Regions from separate parts of the Homo sapiens genome. Here regions 1 and 2 are each linked to region 3. The links are contacts of gene promoters, found by promoter capture Hi-C in blood cells and fetal thymus (Javierre and others, 2016). All regions are on one chromosome and are shown on one strand. The core of a region is centred on a gene start or on the middle of the fragment in contact, and the rest is flanking DNA. Distances in the headings are between cores, read along the strand shown.

Region 1 (4,758 bases), core at 1,318-3,817, 540 kb before region 3:
GTTTTACGCTTCCCTGATGCCTGAATGCACCACAATCTATGAAAATACCCACTTCTCACACGGCAGCCGCCAGACTGCAGGCTTCATGGAATTAGAGTGAGTGTGTCTTGCTCCCCACACTCCTGCGGTGCAGGAGAGGCATCACAGCTGTTGTTGGCCAAGTAAATGAGGGGAGAATGCAAGCATGCCAGGGCTCAGGTTTTCTTTCTGATGCCAGGTCATTTTGAAGGGTTGGCCCATTGTCGATTCCCAGTGCTAGGATAGCAGTGTGGTGTGCCGGAGATACAGGGGATGCGACCCAGTGACTTCTCCCCATCCTTTAGCTGAGGGGCAGGCTCAGCTTCCAGGTCACTTCCTGCTCCCTTGGTCTCTGAGCTTTGTTAAGGGGCTCAGCAGAGGCAGATGTGGGTCTTATTCTAGCTCTGTGGACCTCAGGAAACAGGAGGTGGAGAGAGGGAGCAAAATGGGGAACTTTCAGGGTGGAGGGGCGGGCTTTGTCCTGTCCCTCAAAAGCTAGCTTCTTCCACACACTCTCCCAGTCTAATCCTCTTGACCGTTGGCAGTAATAAGCTTCAGTGTTGCAGCTGGGAGACTGGAACTCAGAGAGATCAAGGGATGCATCTCAAATCACAGAGGGAGCAGAGAGTGAATGGGACGCAAGCCCCAGTCTACTGATCTTCACACCTGCACAGGTCCCCTGACACCACGCTGCCCTTCCCGGCCTGCTCTAACCCTTCTTCCTTCCCCAGTCCATCTGCAGCTTAGCACCCACATGACGGCCATCCCATTAAGTCATGGGAAGATTTGGCATGGGATGATGTGATCACATCTGGACCAATGGGGAAGAGGGCTTGGAGGACCGGACAATCTGACTCAGACATTCGGAACTTTTGTGCTGACTCTCCTTTCTAACAAAGTTGACTGTGGATGACAGAGAATGTGCTAGAGAGTGTTAAGGGCTGACCTCTGTGAGGACCAGAACCTGTCTGCTGGGCTCATCTCCTATGCCCCATGTCCAGGACAGTGCTGGCTAGCCATTGCTAGGTGAGAGAATCGTGTCTGGCTTCCAGCAAGGTCTCTGTGCAGTGCAGGAAACACACAGAGTGCTGGTCCTCAGCAATTACCATCAGGGCCAGACCTCTGTTGCATTCTCCCAGGACTGAGAAGGGCAGAGTGGAAGCTTCCCTCCTCACAGCTGTCAAGAAATACCTGAGACCCTTGCACAAAACCATCCCTTGTGGAGTGGAGGACAGGCTGGCCTTTCAGAAGCAATTCTAGCAAAATCAAAGACACTCAGAGAAAAGGGAGCACCTTTCCCTGCTAAGGATCAGCTGTCCAGAAGAGGCAAGTATGCCTCCAGAATTCTCAGCTGTGATTAGCATGATTACAATGCCCTGTTTTCCATGAACCACTGTAGCCAGGATTACACAACCCTCAGTTTTGGGTTTGTGGGGAAAAAAAGCACGTCCAGAAAATTCCAAGTAGTAACACTAATTTCAAACTGTTGGTGGCTACATTTGAGTACAGAACTTTATTAGGAAAATTATAAGTGCATATACATTTTTTCATTGGTATGACTTCAAAGTAGAAATTGTTGTTTCTCAAAGAGTTGTTTCTTATTTATTTTTTAAAGCACGCTGCGTATAGGAATTGGCCTTCTCCTGGACCATTTTCACATTATCTGGGAGATGCAATTGAAACAATACAAAATACAGTATTCATCACATTTAACACTGAATCATTCACTGCTCAGAGACTGAGAGTCCAGCGAGGTTGCAAAATAACAAATTTTCTACATGGTTTTATCAGTGGTCTGCTTAGGGGATTTGGAAGTTTCTAGGGAATATTTCCCAGGAATGGGGCTCCTTCAGAATGAGTCAGGGAAGCTCTGTAGAGGGATCAGAGCACTCAAATTCTCATCCAGCTGGAAAAGGGTGTAGCACCTGGGAAAGGCGATCAACTCCCAGTCAGGGAGCCCACGGTGATAACACCAGTCAGACGATCACACCATGGAAGGGTCCAATGAGATCCAATGGAAAGACTTAGAACATCTAAGGTTGGGGGAGGTGCAACCTTCTGCTATTCAGCCCCTCTGCTCCAAGCGGAACCTTTTTTCTCAGGAGGTAATCTCTAATAACAAGCAGAGTGCCCTCTGGAGCCTCCTCGCTGGTATCTCAGTGCCTGGACAGAGGGGGACACACCACAGCACAAACACGTGGCACAGACTCAATCCCAACACACAGCCAGTCAACGAGCCTCTGGCCCCTTCCTCTGGGTCCTGATACAGAGCTGGCAGCGAGGGCCTCTGAAGAGGTTACAGGGAGCCCAAGGGAGTGTCAGGTAGAGGCAGCACCAGGTCCCGGAGGGACAGATGAGGGATCCCTAGTAAACAGCTCGTGGACGCACTTGACTAGCAGTTCGAAAGCAAAAAGAGATTCGGATTACAAGAGACTTTTCCCTTGCAAATGGAAGACTGTATTTAAATGCATATTGCTTTAGCTGGGCAGTCTCCAGGAAGGAGCTGATTGTTAGTAGAGGAATTGTTATGCAAATAATTTTCCCTGCAGTTTCTACTCTTATCTATTTTCTCCCATGGAGGAGAAATAGAAATGATTCCTTTCCTGACTGTAGTCAAGATTTAGGGTCATGTTTGTTTCCTCAACCAAGAATTCAATGGTCTTGGTTCATGGATTGGGGGCAGGTACATCCAAGTTCTACGTGACAGATTTTAAAATATCTTGGATTACCTGGATAATGACTGCCCCACTGAAAACTCAATTATACTGGTATAGTGAGAGGTTAATTTCAAAAGGTTTTGAAAGAGTTCTGTATCTTTATAACTAGTAAAGATCCCTCAGGCTCTATTTTTTCAATATAACATAGCTGGATTGAGGATTTTAATTTTTGTTTAAGGGACAATTTTTGTTGATGGGTTTGCCTTCTGCCATGAAGCTCCAATTTGAAATACTTATGAAAATACTTAACACATGTTACTAATTACCCTACAGATTATTAAATTCAAGAACAGTTACAATTCAAGATTACATCACTATAATTTACTTCCTACTTCCTACATGTTACATAGTTTCCTTGCTTTGACTTCCTTGTTTTCCACTTTCTTCATTAAAATTTTTTTTAACTGGAGTCTTTAATCAAAGGGCAAAAGTATTCGTAAGACTGAATGAAAAACAAAACAAAAACCCACAAGTGCTTGCCTTTGTCAAAAGTGAACATTTTAAGTGGCTTAATACAGCTCTATCGACTGCCCTCAGTGGAAGGGGAACACTCCAAATGTCAGGCAGGTTGACTTACTCTTCACATAGCACATTGTTCTCTTAGAGAAATGTCCTGTGGGAAGGGCCCGAAGCACAGGTGACACGCAGAGCAGAGAGGGCCCAGGAGGAAGGCAGGAGATGATGGCATTGCCAAATGGTGAAGAAGATGAGGTTAGATGTGAATTGGGAAAGAATCTTCATGTCCAGGATTGGTTATTTTGTGGACTGGGTTTTAAAAACCAAAAACAAGTTGTGAATGCTTGTTTTCCTCAAGCAGTGCTGGGCTTGGCCCTAGTTTGAAGGTACTGACATGTGAGGGAGCACTGATGGGGCAGCAATCCTCTGGGGTCAACCCTGGTGCACACCGAATTCCCTTGGGCTCTGCCCATGGACCCACCATGTTTTTGTGATCAGTGGGGGAACCAAGGTAGTTCACCCCAAAGGACCACGGCTCTGATCAGGACTGCACTCAAAGGGCCCAAGGAGCATCTCCTCGCTCAGCGGCTGCACAGGGGGAACAGTGCATGCATCAAGACATTGGTCACAGAGGAGGACGCTGGCTTTGAACAAAAACATAGGATTGGACAATGGACAATATTCCAAACAAGACACAGATGTGCACAGTGTTTTCAGGTAACACAAGACATTTTCATTTCCTGCTTGGTGCACAGTTTACATGAAAGCTTTGGTCCTGAGAGTCCTTTTGCAGGGCCATGGAGACAGTCGTGGACACACATGATGATGGATGAGACAGAGAATGATGAGCAGAACGTGGAGGATGTGGAGGTGCTCGGGATGAGGGCTGGGTCTCACTCTGCCCTGGCCTCACACTGCTGCCTCAGCTCAGGGTAGCCCTGCTGCCCTCCCAGAAGAGGCAGACCCGGCTCCCATGTGGATGGAGAAGGGGGTGAGCCTCCCATGTGGCCCTCCACCATCCCATCCCACAGAGAGAAGCCTTCACTAGGCTTTGCCCAGGTTGACTGGTCCTGGCACCCCCAGGCGTCCCTCTTGGTGGCTCTCCACCCTAGGGCTGACCATGGGGCCAGGCTCCCTCAGCCCAGTCTCCCCACCTGCACAGCTCAGAGAATACAAAACCCAGGAGCCCTGAGTCAGAGGAGTGGCTCCGTGGAAAGACACTCTAATAAGGCAAGTACAATAATGGCCTTAGTCTAAGCTGCTACGTGTCGCCAGTGACACTGAATAATCAAACTAAATGAAAAATAAATGTCATGTATTTTGCTACATAATCAAATGGTGAAAATATGGCAAAGTGTGCAAAACAAAGCCCTTGGCAATGCCTGGGGCCCTGCCCTGGCAGGGGAGGCTGTGGCAGGCCCTTCCCTAACACTGGTTTCAGAGCTGGGCTCCTACTGTAAGGGTTCCTCAGGCGTCTGACCCTCTCACATCTTGAACCTCCTGTTGACAAGAACAGAGGGAAACACCATTAAGGCAGGTTCCCCCCACACCCAGCCAGCTCCAGAAG
Region 2 (4,786 bases), core at 2,274-4,773, 930 kb before region 3:
TCTTCATGCTAAGGCCTAGCTGACTGGCTGAGCCAACCTACTCCTCCAGGGCCTGCCCAACCCTGATGGGTGCCTGACGCAGGCCTGGAACATCTTGCTGCCTTCTCGTACTCACAGCTTAGGAAGCAAAAAGCAAGCCAGGTGTTCATACTTCTCTGCTGGGGACATAACAAATGGCATGACAAATACTAAAGCAATAAATGAACTGAAAAATAAATGAGTTGGCAATTATTTATCACAGAATTATCTGAGATGGTATTTCAAATTATTTCTCCCCTTAAAAAAAAGGATATTTTTTTACGGCATGAAGAGTCAAATGTAAAAGTAAAGAAATGAAAACAATCAGATGGAGAGAGATGAATATTTATCAGATTCCAGGATGAACATGGGCTTTGTAATTGTAATTCTTTGGGGAAAATTAATTCACCAGAAGCCCCCCTGGGAAGGGCATGGTAATTGCTGAAAAGATGCCTGATAAGCCACATACACGGGAGGGAGATTCCCTTAGGAAGGGCAAAGGGATTGCAAAACTGCCTTCCAGAAAGCTGAGGACCTTGCTAATGAGCTGACTTTATGTTCTGCTAAGAGCTGGTAGATGGTTTAGGGACAAATATCAGGCACTGTGCAATGGAGGGGAGGGAATTTGAGGTTTTGGTGGGGTTCAGGAAGATACCCTGGGGGGAATTCATTTGTATTTCATAAAAATTAATAACTTCTGAAAACAGCAACAACAAAAATGTACCATGAGCAGAAATAAGAGTACTTAAGAAACTAAGAGAAATGTTTTCAGCAAAGATGAATAAAGTTTAGTTGGTATATTTTCAGCACTCCCTATGAAAGGCACTCAGACTCCTGAAGAAAATTGTTCAAGGTCATTAGATAAGTCAGGGGCCCCTGAGAAAAAGAGCAGAAGATGGGAGGATTTTATTCAGGGAAATGGGGGGTGAGAGGGAAGAGAGGGGAGGACTGACAGAAAGCTTGACTCCAGAGAGAGAGAGAGAAAGTTGGGAGGGAGTGCGCTGGACACCCTGGGGATTCCAGGAACACCAGAAAGAGGACTCTCCAGTTCCAGGAGCTGGGCCTTGGTCTCCCAGCCATGCCCTGGTGAGTGGGAGCCGCCCCTGGGCAGCGTGGCCTCAGTCCCAGTGCAGCCTTGGTTTCCCAGCAGCAGCGGGGCCTGGGTCATCTATACTTTCTGTGGTTGGAGTCTTGAGGTGCATTTTGTCGGCCAGCACAGATGTGACAAGAGAGTCCCAAAGGAAGGCAGGCAGATGGCTGAGGAGCATTTCTGTAGGGTGTCCTCAGCCCTCTGAGAAAGCTTCCCACAGCAAAGTTCCGTGCTGAGGCATAGAGACCTTCCGCACTGTCCTCAGGGCCTAAACTATGTAACCACAGCAGAATCAAAGATCTCCAAATCTCAAGCACAGTCCCTTAGTGCACCTCCCCATCCTGTGGTTGTCCAACCTGTGTCTGAATACCTCCCATAACAGGGTGCTCATTCACTTCTGTGACATTTCTGGACACGTCTTGAAGAGCTGTGGGTACAGAGCACCCTTGACTTAACTAACTCCATCTTAGAAAAAGGCTCCATTTTATGTTCACAGAGCACTTTACCAACAAGGATAAGATATTTTGTTTAATAAATGAATTAAAAAAAATAAGACTGCATCCAACAAGATAAGGTCATAAACAAGAATGCTCTTCTCTATCTGTTCTCACCAGAGGACTCTGACTAGAAAAGATTAGGCCTTCAGCAGCCTGGAATTGGCCATCCTAACTGACACCATCTTGCAGTCACTTGTGATAAGAGCTGGGCATCTGCTTCCAAAGGCTCTGCAGCATCAAATACTCTGCATTGCAAAACCAGTGGACCACCTCGCCTAGACAAGGGCTCCTTTAGCTACCCCTGGACTGGTTTGTTCACTTTTTCTTCTATCTGTTTTGCCCTTTGATGTTAAATGTTACTTTGTTTGTTGTAGAATGTTTAGCCTATAACATTCATATATTGATTAAGTATACTATGATGTATGGTGTGCAATACTGACTGGCTTGTGGGGTGACTTGAGCCTGTGTGCTCAGGACTATGTGCCCGTGACTCCCTAGTGCATGGGAAGTGTGATGGAGAATTGCCTTCTTGGGAACTCCATGTAGCTCATGGCTTTTGTGATTGAAATACCTTCAATAAAAGCCTGACATTGTGGAAAGACACACACGTGCATGGATCTGGTTATTTCTAACCTTGTACCACTTATGCCATCATGCGACCGAAAGCGGAGTCCACAGGTCACAGATCTGCCTGATCTCTTTAGAAATGCAGAGCATCAGGCCCACCCTCTACCTAAGGAGCGAGTGAGCATCTTCCTCTTTGTAGATCCCAGAGCTATGCATACACGTTGCAGGGTGAGAAGCAGTTCCTCAAGGTGGCTGCTGTAGCCTGAGCTAGCATTCACTCCCTCCAACTGTTAGCCTGGGTCTTAGTTTTGCTTTGTATAACCACAGCAATGGCCTTGCTCCCTTCCCTCCATAATGGCACAGTGAAGAAGTGCCATGGCAGTCAGCTCTGGTCTGGGTAAGTGTCCTGCCCTGGAGGAGTGAGGAGTGCAGGAGTTCCCACTTCAGGTGGGCAGAGATGGGATAGGAGCGGCTAGCTTTGGGGATAAGGTAAAAGTCTTTGTGCTTACGATTTAAGGATTGAGGGCAAGAATGGCCCAGATTGTCAGGGCCTTGAATGTCAGTCTGAGGACTTTGTTCTGTGAACAGCAGATGGTGCAGGTATGGGAGGGTGATGTCCACATGGCTCTCCAGCCTGGACCCCGGACCCTTCTCCTCCAGCGCGGGACCCAAATCCTCCCTCGCAGCTCCTCCACCTGGATGGCTTCCAGGAACCTTGCTCTGGACTGAATTATGTCCCCACAATATTCATATGTGGAAGCCCTAACCCCAGTGCAGCTGGATTTAGAGATGGAGCCTCTAAGAAGGTAAATGCAATTAAATGAGGTCATGAGAGCAGGGCTCTGACCCCATAAGGGACACCGACTGGGTGAGGTGGCTCATGCCTGTAATCCCAGCACTTTGGGAGGCTGAGGCGGGTGGATTACCTGAGGTCAGGAGTTTGAGACCAGCCTGGCCAACATGGTGAAACCCCGTCTTTACTAAAAATACAACAAAATTAGCTGGGCATGGTGATGGGCACCTGCAGTTCTAGCTACTCGAGGCTGAGGCAGGAAAGAATCACTTGAACACGGGAGGCAGAGGTTGCAGTGAGCTGAGATCGCACCGTTGCACTCCAGCCTGGGCAACAGAGCGAGACTCTGTCTTAAATAAATAAATAAACAAATAACATAAAAAGAAGGGACACCAGAGAGTTCTCTCTGTCTCTCTCTGTGAAGGCACAGTGAGAAGGTATCATTTACATGCCAGAAAACGGCCCTCCGTGGAAACCAATTCAGCTGTGCCTTGATCTAGAATTCCAACTTCCAGAGCTGTGGGAAATGAATGTCTGCTGTTTCAGCTGCCCAGCCTGTGGTGTTTTGCTGTGGCAGCCTGAGCTAAGACAACCTAAAATGCAGTGTCTTCTTCAGAGAACTGAGGATTTCTCCCACAGAACCTGCCCTCCCCTGCGTTCCTGGTCACTGACAGCACCACTGCAAGCCTGGTTTCCTGGCTGGGAAGCCCCTGACCTCTCCTCCTCCTCTGTCCCCTGCATCTACACAGTCACCCCATGGTGCGGCTTTACATTCTCCTCAGCCCGTGTCTCTGACCCTCTGGCTGCTGCCTGGGTGCAAGCTGCCTTAACCTCCAGCCAGCGATGGCGGCAGCTTTCTAGGTGACTTTCCTGCCCCTAAGTCCTGCCTGCAGCCCCTCATCCCACCCTATATACTGTGGACATTTTTCCAGATCCTTCTAAAGGGACTCGTTTGATGAAGTCACCCCACCATCACACACTCCTGGGCTCCACTGCTGCAGGAAGAGGTGCAAGTTACTCTGTACAAACGCGATGGTGTTGACCTTGCCTGCTGGCCTCTTAGCTCACAGAAGCCATTCTCCCTGCCCTTCCCCACCCTCCCCACCCACATGACCAGTGACCCATGGCCCAAGTCTGCCAGGCTCCCGTCTTGCATGGGAGCCTCTGCACATGCGCTTTCTTCTCCTTGGAGTATCTTTTCCTCCCCCACCTCATTACCTTCCAACCCCCTCACCTTTGAGCCTCAGCTGAGCTTCTTTAGGAAGTACCTCCCTACCTCCCAGACTCCAAGGCAGCAGTCTCCAGGCCCCTGTGGCTGCTGAGCTCCTGAGATGTGGCCAGTGCCATTGAAGAAGGGAATTTCTAAGCTGTGAGTAAACTATGCAGCAGATTCATCTCAATTTTATATCAACTATATATTGAATCTTGAATAACAATATTTTAGATATATTTAGTTAAATATATTATTAAAATTAATTTCATATTTTTAAACTTAAAAAATATAGTCACAAGGCAATTCAAAATGATATATGCAGCTCGCCTTTGTGGGTCATGTTATATTTCTGCCAGACAGTGCCCTGGTCCGGGTCAGATGTCCCTCCCATGTGCTCCCAAAAGGCCCTGTTCTTATTCCTGGTACAACACATGTCAAACGCCCTGTAATCACCAATCTGATCCCTTGACCATCCTCTCCAACAGGGTCTGTTTCCTGAAGGGGTGTCTGGTGTCCTAATCAATGGGACATCCCTGTCACCTAATCACAGTAACTCACACAGAGGAGGTGCTCCCAAAAGATCAATGGGAAGAAGGGAAGGAGGGAAG
Region 3 (4,290 bases), core at 180-2,679:
CAAAGATTGTGCCACTGCACTCCATCCTGGGCAACAGACAAGACCTTGTCTCAAAAAAAAAAAAAAAAAGAAAAGAGGAAAGAAAGGAAGGGGAAGGGGAAGGAGAAGGGGAGGGAGGGGAGGGGAAGGGAGGGGAGGGAAGGGCCAAACTAATTGTTCTTGAGTTTTCCGTTATTATTGGCAGACCTTGGCTTTCCATGGTTCAACTTAGGATGGTGTGAAAATGATGTACATTCAGTAGAAATTGTACTTTAAATTTTGGATTTTGATGTTTTCCTGGGCTAGCAACATGCCCTACAATATATTCTTACATGAGCTACTCCACACTTTATAACATAAACCTTGTGTTAGATGATTTTGCCCAACCATAAACTAAGTGTTCTGAGCACATTTAAGTAGGCCAGGCTAAGCTCTGATGTTCAGTAGGTTGGTTGGATTAAGTGCATTTTTAACTTAAAATATTTTCAATGTCTGATGGGTTTTTTGGGACATAACCCCATCATAAGTTGAGGAGCATGTGTATTGGGTTTGCTTGGAGTTTTTTTCCTTATTTGGTTGTTTTGTTTTCTATCTTATATGAGCAAAGGGGTAAAAGATTTCAGAAAAACACCTGAGAGATAAATCTTAATACCATTCAATCTAGCACATCCGTTAGTAAATTAAGAATGAGGGAAAGCCCACCACTGTCCAAGTGTAAAGGCTGGGCTCCTTGAAACAGCTACAGGGACACTCCAAGTACATCAAAAACACCAATTCAGCCAAAACTTCACATTTATTTTCTGCAAAAGTTACCAAGGCTCACAGATGCCTTTGGGTTTCCCCAAGGTCACCCGGTTAATTATTGACATAGCAACTCCCCTCGCAAAACAAAGAATCAAAATGATTTCCCACGTCCCATGTTGGGATGCATGTTAATGAGGAAGGAAGGCCTCTGCGTGGCGGGGCCTGAGCTAAGTATGTCTAGTCAGAGTCCAAATCCGGGACAGATTTGAAAAGCTTTCTAATCCACCTATACGCAGAAGAATAAAGCTTGGAACTCATTTCAAAAGTTGTTTCTACTGGTGATTTAAAGACACACTCCTCTCTCCCATATGCACATAAGCACAGACCTGCAAGAGCACTGTCCCCTCCAGAGCCAGACACTACAGGCCCCCAGCAAGTGTGAAATCCAGGTGTGACTTTCTAGGCATGGCTTGGTGAGGAAGGGCCTGGCCCACTCCTTGGCTCCCTCCTCCCAGCCAGAAACGGTTAATTGCCAGCTCCAGACTGCCTCCAGCCCAGCCCTAATCGCCGATCTCAGGCGGCTGGGCTGCGCTGGGGCTGAGCGGCTCCAGCCCAGGCTGGGGTTGTGTGAGCAGCAGGAGCATTCTTCCAAGGTAATGATTAAGCTGAGTGCCTGGCAAGGGCACGGGCTGAGAGCACAGAAGGTGAGCCCTATTCACACCTCGGCCAGGCTGCGGTGGCCAGGACTGGTTTGGGAAGGCAGGGCCCCGGTGTGCAGCCACAGCCAGCAGCCTCCTACCTACACAAGGGTGTTCGGGAGCATCTCAGGGCCGAAGACTTTGCTGCCTGCCCTGCCAGGACTTTGTCCTCACCCCTGGCACCATGCAGCTCCAGGTGTTCTGGACTGGGCTGGAATACACCTGCCGGCTCCTGGGCATCACCACTGCTGCAGGTAAGACCCTGCCTCCTGGCTGCTGATCCTTGCACACTGGCACCACAGATAGGGCTGCCTGAGGGGTGGGAGGTGGCCAGGAGACAGCAGGCACATCTGGCCACTTCTGTGCTTCAATTTTTTTCCCAAGACCCCTAGAAACACTGCTCTGTAGAGCAGCAGCAAGTGCAGTGGGGTGAGCCTAGGGCTGGGGACCAGAGGGCTGGGTGCTGGATCTTTGCTTGGCAAGTCACCCTCCCTGTGACCTTGGGAAGCCTCAAGATCCTCATCTGCAAAATGATTCCAGGGGCCACCCCACCTACGCAGAGAGTTGTCATGAGATGGAGGTGGAGACAGAAGGTGAAGATAGAAAGGGCTGGGCTTCGCTGTGTATCTACAAAAGGTCAACTGAGCTCATCCTGCTTTACTCAAACCATAGCCCTACCTCATGGAGAGAGAACTCCCAGTCATGAGCAGCTCTGCCCTGGAGGGACAGGCTGAGCCTGGCTGGACGTGGAGATCACAGGCTTCCCTCGGGCCCATGCTGGACCCTGTTAACAGAACACCCTGTAGGAACCCAGACCCCTGTCTGAGGTCTGACTGCAGGAATGCACTGTGGTCTTAGCAGCAGAGATGCTTCCCAGAGATGCTGGGCTCCTTCCTTCACCCAGCAGAATCACAGGGCTGCTCAACTGGACAGGAGGGCAGACTGTTAGAGCAGAGCCCAGAGCCACCATCCTGAGCCCTGCCTGCTCGCTTCCCCAGGGCAGGCCTGACCCTTAGCCCCATTCCCCCTACAGAGCCAGGATCTGTTTTGGGGAAATGAACAGGCAGAATTCTGAGCCCTTAACTCTGAGCCACATTGTCCCTTGGGGACAAAGAGAGACACACCCCCTATCAAAGCCCTTCCCCACCACTGGGCAAAAGCTTACCCACGGGTCTTACCAAATGGGAAAGTTCTCCTAGGTCAAAATCACATAGTGCTTGTTCCTGCCCCAGCCTAGTCACTTGCGTGATATATGACCTTGGGGAGCCCCTGACCCCTCTGAGGCTGCACTTTCTGATCTGTATGATGGGGACCTGCTGGCCAGGTGTTTGGACAGATTAAGGATGCAGGAACTGAGCATGGCTAAGTGGAACTGAGGATGAAAACCTCTCAGCAGAAGCCCCCATGACACACTCCAGAGCTCAATGGGAAGCTGGGTCATTTCAGGAGCACTGGGCTGGGTTCAGCCGTGAGCTGGCCAGTGGGCTCTTCCAGCATCTAGGCCATGAGTTAGATCATGAAGGGCTGCTGGATGGTTTAACCCCACCCCTCCTGCTACAGGATGGGGCACCTGAGCTCAAATGCAGGTGGTGACCTTGCCCAAGGTCATGGTCAGAGGGACAGCCAGCCCGGAGCCCTGGTCCTTCAACTTTCACAAAGGCCAGGGCTCTGGCCAAAACCTTCCCTGTCTTCCAGAGTAGGCAGCAGGAAGAGGTTCAGAATTGCTCTGCTGAGGCTCTGAGTGGAGGCACTGAGGGAGGAGCCAGATCCAGCCACTTTCAGAACCACGTTGTCGTCTACACATAAGAGAATGATGGCCAAGACCCCCAACAAGCAAAAAAGCCATCCTGGGGAGAGGAAGGCCACCCTAAATAGGTTTCCATGTCTGTTGATCTGAGTCCACCCTGCTCCCTCTAGGCTTTGGTTTCCAAATCTGTAAAATGCCAAGAATCCCACAGTTCCCCCAGCCACACTCCACCCAGAGCTGAGGCCCACCTCCCGTCGAGAGGCTGTTCTAAGATGTATGTACCTATCCTTCTAATGGATTAGCTAGAGACAGTTTAACAGTCTGATTTATCTCAGTCACCGGAAGAGTCTGCAGCCCCTGACACTCCCATGTGCACGCACACACACACACACACACACACACAAACCCGTGCGCGCGCACATAGGGCTCGTCTTAACCACAGCCTTTATCTCCGCACAGGGACTGCTGTTAATGCTGAGAATGGGCCTCCCTCTTGGTTTTGATAGGAGATTCAGACTAAAAATAGCCATGAGCTCCCTTCTAATGGCCAGGCTTTCAAATGATCTTGCTCGGGCTTTCTAGAGTGCTGGGAGGGAGTGGGAGGCTAGAGAGAGGGGTTTGGTGTTCTTGGGCAAATCTCGAGTTTCTTCCAGCATCACTGAACTCCTGGCCTATTTCCAGTACATAGGATTTGCAAATTCCTTATTCTCCTAAGCCTCTCTTTTGTTGAAATCTTCTGTTGAGAAATCCAGGCTTCATTTACAAGGGCACTGCTGCTAGAGAGGAAATAAGACCGGAAATAGAGGGCCTCACTTTGCAGAAACCCTAGGGAGGTGGGGAGTGTGGATTTCTTAAAAGCTAGGAAGACATGTGACCCAAGGGCACTCAGAGTGTCACCTGCAGGGACCAGGCAGCTGCTAAGAGGCTACAGCCTCTCATTAGCAGCCTCTTCCCTGGACCCCCTGCAGACAGGATCAGGGCTGTCAAAAGCACTGACGGCACCTGGTGGGTGCCTCTGCCAGCATGTCAAGGCCCTATGACTGTGGATGAAGCCACAGCCTTTGGATGAAGCCTCCTTAGGATTCCTCGAAGTCCCGCAGACCATTCTTGCCCCACCTCAGT

What was found. Contacts are between HindIII fragments. The CHiCAGO score rates a contact against its expected background, and 5 or more counts as called.
Region 1: a fragment that was not itself captured here is called in contact with the fragment with the promoter of TMEM72 in region 3 in 1 of 17 cell types (M0 macrophages); the score reaches 6.1 in M0 macrophages.
Region 2: a fragment that was not itself captured here is called in contact with the fragment with the promoter of TMEM72 in region 3 in 1 of 17 cell types (erythroblasts); the score reaches 5.3 in erythroblasts.

The regions. Positions count from the first base shown.
Region 1 is chr10:44,368,653-44,373,410 of GRCh38, forward strand. It overlaps a transcript of CXCL12 not described here. Among named protein-coding and RNA genes, the nearest start is that of CXCL12, 14 kb to the right of the region's middle. RefSeq lists an enhancer at 2,172-2,720. The HindIII fragment of the contact is 2,778 bases long and covers 1,179-3,956 here.
Region 2 is chr10:43,982,447-43,987,232 of GRCh38, forward strand. No RefSeq gene overlaps it. Among named protein-coding and RNA genes, the nearest start is that of LINC02659, 72 kb to the left of the region's middle. The HindIII fragment of the contact is 4,415 bases long and covers 1,317-4,786 here.
Region 3 is chr10:44,909,908-44,914,197 of GRCh38, forward strand. TMEM72 (transmembrane protein 72) reads left to right here and starts at 1,430. Exons shown (of 5, transcript NM_001123376.3): 1 at 1,430-1,675. The coding sequence starts at 1,606. All of the region lies in intron 2 of TMEM72-AS1 (TMEM72 antisense RNA 1), which reads right to left. The HindIII fragment of the contact is 1,552 bases long and covers 1,028-2,579 here.